Regions from separate parts of the Homo sapiens genome. Here region 2 is linked to region 1. The links are contacts of gene promoters, found by promoter capture Hi-C in blood cells and fetal thymus (Javierre and others, 2016). All regions are on one chromosome and are shown on one strand. The core of a region is centred on a gene start or on the middle of the fragment in contact, and the rest is flanking DNA. Distances in the headings are between cores, read along the strand shown.

Region 1 (2,700 bases), core at 1-2,500:
ACTCGCTGACATCCTGCAGCACAATCACCCGGTTGTGGGCCTCCTTCAGGTTGGAAGTGAACATGGATCGGAAGAAGCAGCTCTGAGCTGAGAGGACCAGCCGATGGAGCTGAAACTCCCGGCCTTCCACCGAAATGGTGACATCAGCAAAGAGCTCCTCCTCTAGACACAGTTTCATGATGCCTTGAGCCACACGGCCTGAATGTGACCGATCTTTGAAAGTGTAGTTCACAAAGTAGTTCTCATCCATGGATGCTCCAGGCTCCTCTGGTGATTCCATGCTAGCCAACTTCTCTCTCTGCCAGCTGTCTGCAAAGCAACACCATCTTGAGTAACCTGAGGAATTCACAGCCATAGTCTGTGAATCCAACTGTCCAACTCAGGGAGGGAAAAGGAAGAAGTGAGAGCAAAGTGGGTCCAGATTGGCCTTAGTCCTGGCCCTGTCCATGATGTCCCTGACGCTATCCTTTAACCAAATCTGGGTTCGTTATCCCCAGTGGCGCCCCTCCGCTAATGATATAAATAAAAGTTCCAACTCTGGGTGTTTTCCTGAGAAAACACGGAATAATTCCTTTCCATAATGTTAACAAAAGACTTGGGATTTAGGTCAATATATGAAAGCAAAGGGCTGGGAGAGGCCTGTGATCGTAAAAGCCTTACTAACCAAATAACTGGGGCATAAAACTAGTGAAGCTCAGGGGCAGTAGAATCAGACAAAAAGGACCCCTGGCCCCGGCCTAGTGGCCAGGTCCTCTCCTTCCCAGCGCATGGAGTTAAGACGCTCCATATGAAGCCTAGCCTGGGATATCCGTGGGTCTTACATTTGCTCTCTTCTGAGCTGCTTCCCCCACACTTCCCCGCTCGCTCGAAAGACTCCCTATGGCTGCGTCCCAGAACTTGAGTCCATCCGCCCCCAGGCCGGGGCACTGGGAGGCCCATCACCCTGTGCAATGTCCCCGCTCCACCTTGAGTCGTCTTGGAAACGGTCGCCAGGGAAACCGTTCTTCCCGCTCAGGCCCGCCCGCCCTCGTCAAAAGCTTGGCTCAGAGAGCGGGGGAGGGGTGTGTAGCGTAGAACCCAAAACGCCCGCCCCCTCCCCTCCTCTCACCCGCCTGGTTCTTCAGCGTCCTCGCCTTCTCTCTAGGCTCTGCCACAAGGAGCTAGGACCACGCTCACCTCACGATTTCCCTACCTGCCTGTCTCGCTTTCTCACCTGCGTTCCCTCCTTTCATCCCGGAGCCCGGAACCTCCGCTTCCGGCTCCACGTCCGCCCGGAAGAAGATCTGCTGCACACTTCCGTTTCCGGTCCGTGCCCTTGGGGCTCCGTGTCCTGCTGTCTTTCCGTCCGCTGCCTAGTCTGCATCTGAGTAACATGGCGGCGGCGGCGGTAGCCAGGCTGTGGTGGCGCGGGATCTTGGGGGCCTCGGCGCTGACCAGGGGTGAGCACGGGCAGCCAGCTGAGACCGGGGTCAGGCGCAGCGGCGTGCCCAGTGCAGAGAGCTCCTCAGGGCTCATCCCGCGCGTCTGTGCCTTTTATCTCCCTGTGCAGGGACTGGGCGACCCTCCGTTCTGTTGCTGCCGGTGAGGCGGGAGAGCGCCGGGGCCGACACGCGCCGTGAGTATGTGCGGGCAGCGCTCTTCTCTGAACTATCGGCGGGGCCCCTTAGATGCCTGTCCTTGCCCTAGGATGCCCTTCCCTACGTCCTCCTGGCAAATCTTGGAGATCTGACTTGCAGTGGTCTTCACCCTGCATGCAGAATCGAGCCCTCCCTGTGCCCTTAGGCCTGTTATGGCCCTGATTGTTCCTTGTCCATTTCAATCATCCCCTTTTTGTCTGATTAAACTGTCAGCTCTTTGAAAGCAAGCAATATAACCTTTAGGCCTCAGAGCCCTGTAATAATAGTACCTAGCGTTAATTGAGTGCTTAATGTGTGCCTGGAACCTCGCTAAGCGTTTTAGTGAATGATCTTATTTCGTCCTCACAACAGCCTTATGGGGTAGATAGCATCTTACTCTTCTTACTATAGATCAGGAAACAGTCCAAAGAATTAAACTGCCCAGGGTCAAAGACCTAGTGAATGACAAAGTAGGCCTGCCTGCTGCCAGAGGCAGAAACACCTAACCATTATTCTGTAGCTTGTGATGTGTGATTGCTCAGTGGTTTAGGGTTGCATGAATGAGTATGTACATATTATGTTACAGTCAAGATACACGGACTGGGAGTTAGGAGACCTGGCATTTCTCCTTTCCTGGGTTTTCTCATTGACACACACACACACACACACACACACACACACACACACACACACACCTGGGCCTCAGTTTTCTCATTGACACACACACACACACACACTTTTAAGGAGAGAGAGAGTCTGTGAGGGATCTTCAAGCCCTGAAGTTCTTAGCTTGAGAACCTGGTATAAACTTGCGTGCTAAGGAGCTACAGAGAGGCAAAAGTTCAGTTCCCATCCTCAAACAGCTCTTAGTCTGACAGGAGAACTGAGACTACTGCTTTAGCAGAAATGCAGGCAATGTGAGGGAAGAACTGTGGAGTAATTTTGAGAAGAGGTGAACACCCCAGCTGCTATAGTAAGAGTCTTTCTGAGGACCGTGTAGTTAAGGTGGCACTTTCCCCAAGTTTTCATCACTGTATTCCCTAGAAGGGAAACCTTTCACATGCACCTTTCTCAAGGTGCTTCA
Region 2 (3,656 bases), core at 611-3,110, 43 kb after region 1:
CCTGTAATCTCAGCACTTTGGGAGGCTGAGGCAGGCAGATCACCTGAGGTCAGGAGTTCGAGACCAGCCTGACTAACATAGTGAAACCCCATCTCTACTAAAAATACAAAAATTAGCCGGGCGTAGTGGCGGACACCTGTAATCCCAGCTACTCAGGAGGCTGAGGCAGGGGAATTGCTTGAACCTGGGAGGTGAAGGTTGCAGTGAGCCAAGATCGTGCTATTGCACTCTAGCCTGGATGACAGAGCAAGCCTCCGTCTCAAACAAAACAAAACAAAACAAAACAAAAAAACAAACAAACAAAAAACAAAAAACAGGGGTGAGGGGGGAGGGATAGCATTAGGAGATATACCTAATGCTAAATGATGAGTTAATGGGTGCAGCACACCAACACGGCACATGTATACATATGTAACAAACCTGCACGTTGTGCACATGTACCCTAAAACTTAAAAGTATAATAATAATAAAATTAAAAAAAACAAAAAACAAAAAACAAAAAAATGAGCTGGGCTTAGCGGTATGTGCCTGTAGTCCAAGCTACCTGGGATGCTGAGGTGGGACGATCACTTGAGCCAGAGACCTCAGCCAGGAGGCAGAGGTTGCAGTGAGCCAATACCATGCCACTGCACTCCAGCCTGGGTGACAGAGTGAGACCCTGTCTCAAAAACAAAACAAAACAAAAAAATTAACAGGACATGGTGGAAGCATGCCTGTAGTCCTAGCTACTTGGGAGGCTGAGGTAGGAGGATTGCTTTACCCCAGGAGTTTGAGGCTACAGTGAGTTGTGATGCCACCACTGCACACCAGCCTGGGCGACAGAGCTTGTCTCTAAAAAATAAAGAACCAAATAAGTAAATAAAAATAAAGTAATAATGTTCTGAGTGCAACTGAGTACACTCTGGAGTATAAATCTGAGCCTTCCCAAATATAGGCCATGTGACCTTGCATTATGTAATTGGCACTAAACTGCTCTAAGCCCCAGTTTCTTCATATGTGAAATGGGTGATTAAGAATGACACCTATTCTCACACAGCTGTTTTGAGGATTACATGAGCTGATGTAAGAAAAGCTCTTAGCATGATATCTGGTATACAGTAAATGCCCAATCAAGATTTGCTGTTGTTGTAAGCACCTACAGGAACAACTGTTCCTACTTTAAGTGTGTTTGACACCGTAATCCATTCTCTGTCTGCTTTCTTCCTATAACAGAGTGTTAGTCAGAAAAGGAAGGAAGGAAAGGCCATTTTTTCCATTTAAACAGGGACCACACTGTACAATAGAGAGTAAAACTCAGAATGAAATGCACAATGTTCATAGTAGGTCTGTACTGAAATCATTCAAGTATTCAAGCTTGGATTCACAGAGGGGCTTTGTGGGCACACTAAGCAAGAGCAACTACAAACAACACTTAGGCCTTTTCATTCAGATTTCAAAGGCCTTTCTCTTATATATCACTAGTGCTATAAAATAATGCAACAAAGAGCTTCTTTATACGCTTTCTTCTACAATCTTTTAAGAAGTGGACCCCCCTTCAAAAACAGCTTTAAACTGATAATCATTTTAAGTGATCCTGTGCTAAATTTAGCCCACAGCCAATCCATTTGTTGTTGTTATTGTCTTTTTTTTTTTTTTGAGATGGAGTCTTGCTCTGTCACCCAGGCTGGAGTGCAGTGGCACAATCTTGGCTCACTGCAACCTCCACCTCCTGGGTTAAAGCAATTCTCTTCCCTCAGCCTCCCCAGTAGCTGGGACTACAGGCACACGCTGCTACGCCCAGCTAATTTCTTTTGTATTTTAGTAGAGATGGGGTTTCACTGCGTTGCCCAGGCTGGTCTCAAACTCCTGACCTCAAGTGATCTGCCCGCCTTGGCCTCCCAAAGTGCTGGGATTACACCTGTGAGCCACTGCACCTGGCCTGTAGTTTTTTGTTAAGAGACACGTCTGGCTGTGTTGCCCAGGCTGGCCTCAAACTCCTGGACTCATGTGATCCTCCTGGCTCAGCCTCCTGAGTAACTGGAACTATAGGCATGAGCCACCATACCTAGCCGTTATTTTATTTTCCTTTTTTGGATACAGGGTCTCACTCTGTCACCCAGGCTGAAGTGCGGTGATGCAATCTTGGCTCACTGCAGCCTTGACCTCCTGGGCTCAGGTGATCCTCCCACCTTAGCCTCCTGGGTAGCTGGGACTATAGGTGCTATGCCTGGCTAAGTTTTTGTATTTTCTGTAGCAATGAGGTCTCATCATGTTGCCTCAACTGGTCTCAAACTCCTAGGCTCAAGCAATTTGCCCACCTAGACCTCTCGAAGTGCTAGAATTATAAGCGTGAGCCACTGCACCCAGCCCATTATTTTATTTTCCAATAAAGCTTTGCCTAGATAATAAATAATTTTTTGTTGCAGATTATACACCTCATAGTAATAACAAACCCTAAATTGGTATCTAGGCAAAATCATCCACTAACAAGACTCTAGAAGTATAAGACCAGCTCTGTCAATACCACTGTGACAAATAAGTGGTTATGAAAGGTGAGTTTGGGGGAAAAAAAGAGTCTAAAATCAAGGCCATCATTTTACCAGGATAATAATCTACCTGGATCGTATTTGTAAGTTGAATGTGGGCACTCAAATGGCTTCTAGGTCTCATCTAGGGATTCTTTCTTCTTCATTACTCCTGCTCATGATTTCTAAACATCACATTTTACTATTATGCCAAAGTGAAAACACAGAACACTGTAAAGTGTACATTAACTGGCAGACTAGACTAACTCTAGCTAAAGTGAGCTACAAGAGTTAACTTGGGATTCCAGAGACAATATTTAAGAAAACAAATAAATAAAAATAAAACAAAATAAAATGAGAGAGACAGAGAAAAAGAAATACCTCTTTTTGTAGCATGCACCAACAGTCTATCCAAGACGTATATATTGGGGAGTAAGGAGGGCATCCACCAGCAAGACTAAAATAGAAAAAAACATGGAGCTATTCATGTTAATATTAACCATTCTCTTGAGACGTTGATAAACCTTGTCAAAATATTCTGCTGCACAGAAGATTCCCTGAGAGATCATTTTAGTTCAATGAAACAAATCATATTGAAGCAGGGGAACGATCAAGCATCCAAAAGAGAATTCCTCCCCTATATTTAGGTTTCAAATAAATAAATAAACATAAACTTCAACCTTAATTTCTAAAACATTTAGACTTTTCCTTTGTGGACAAATGAAACTCCAGAACACAGCATTTACATGATTAAAGAGCAGGGAAAGGTGGCCGGGCACGGTGGCTCACACCTGTAATTCCAGCACTTTGGGAGGCCAAGGCAGGTGGATCATTTGAGGTCAGGAGTTCAAGACCAGCCTGGCCAACATGGTGAAACCCCATCTCTACTGAAAATACAAAAACATGAGCTGGCATGGTGGCGCATGCCTGTAATCCCGGCTACTTGGGAGGCTAAGGCATGTGAATTGCTTCAACCCAGGAGGCGGAAGTTGCAGTGAGCCAAGATTGCACTACTGCACTCCAGCCTGGGTGACAGAGTAAGAACCAGTCTTTTTTTAAAAAAAAAAAAAAAAAAAAAGAGCAGGGAAAGGAGATTTAAAAACTAACTGGTGTTCACAAAGATACTAAACATGAAAACGGATATAAACAGTA

The links. Contacts are between HindIII fragments. The CHiCAGO score rates a contact against its expected background, and 5 or more counts as called.
Region 2: a fragment that was not itself captured here is called in contact with the fragment with the promoter of KBTBD4 in region 1 in 3 of 17 cell types (M2 macrophages, M1 macrophages and M0 macrophages); the score reaches 6.4 in M2 macrophages.

The regions. Positions count from the first base shown.
Region 1 is chr11:47,577,720-47,580,419 of GRCh38, forward strand. KBTBD4 (kelch repeat and BTB domain containing 4) reads right to left here and starts at 1,251. Exons shown (of 4, transcript NM_018095.6): 1 at 1,214-1,251; 2 at 1-309. The coding sequence starts at 1,232. It overlaps NDUFS3 (NADH:ubiquinone oxidoreductase core subunit S3), which reads left to right and starts at 1,355. Exons shown (of 7, transcript NM_004551.3): 1 at 1,355-1,439; 2 at 1,550-1,615. The coding sequence starts at 1,373. RefSeq lists enhancers at 810-1,469, 1,162-1,401, 1,470-2,128. The HindIII fragment of the contact is 1,977 bases long and covers 1,036-2,700 here.
Region 2 is chr11:47,619,816-47,623,471 of GRCh38, forward strand. MTCH2 (mitochondrial carrier 2) reads right to left here. Exons shown (of 13, transcript NM_014342.4): 12 at 2,886-2,961. Among named protein-coding and RNA genes, the nearest start is that of MTCH2, 21 kb to the right of the region's middle. The HindIII fragment of the contact is 1,018 bases long and covers 1,352-2,369 here.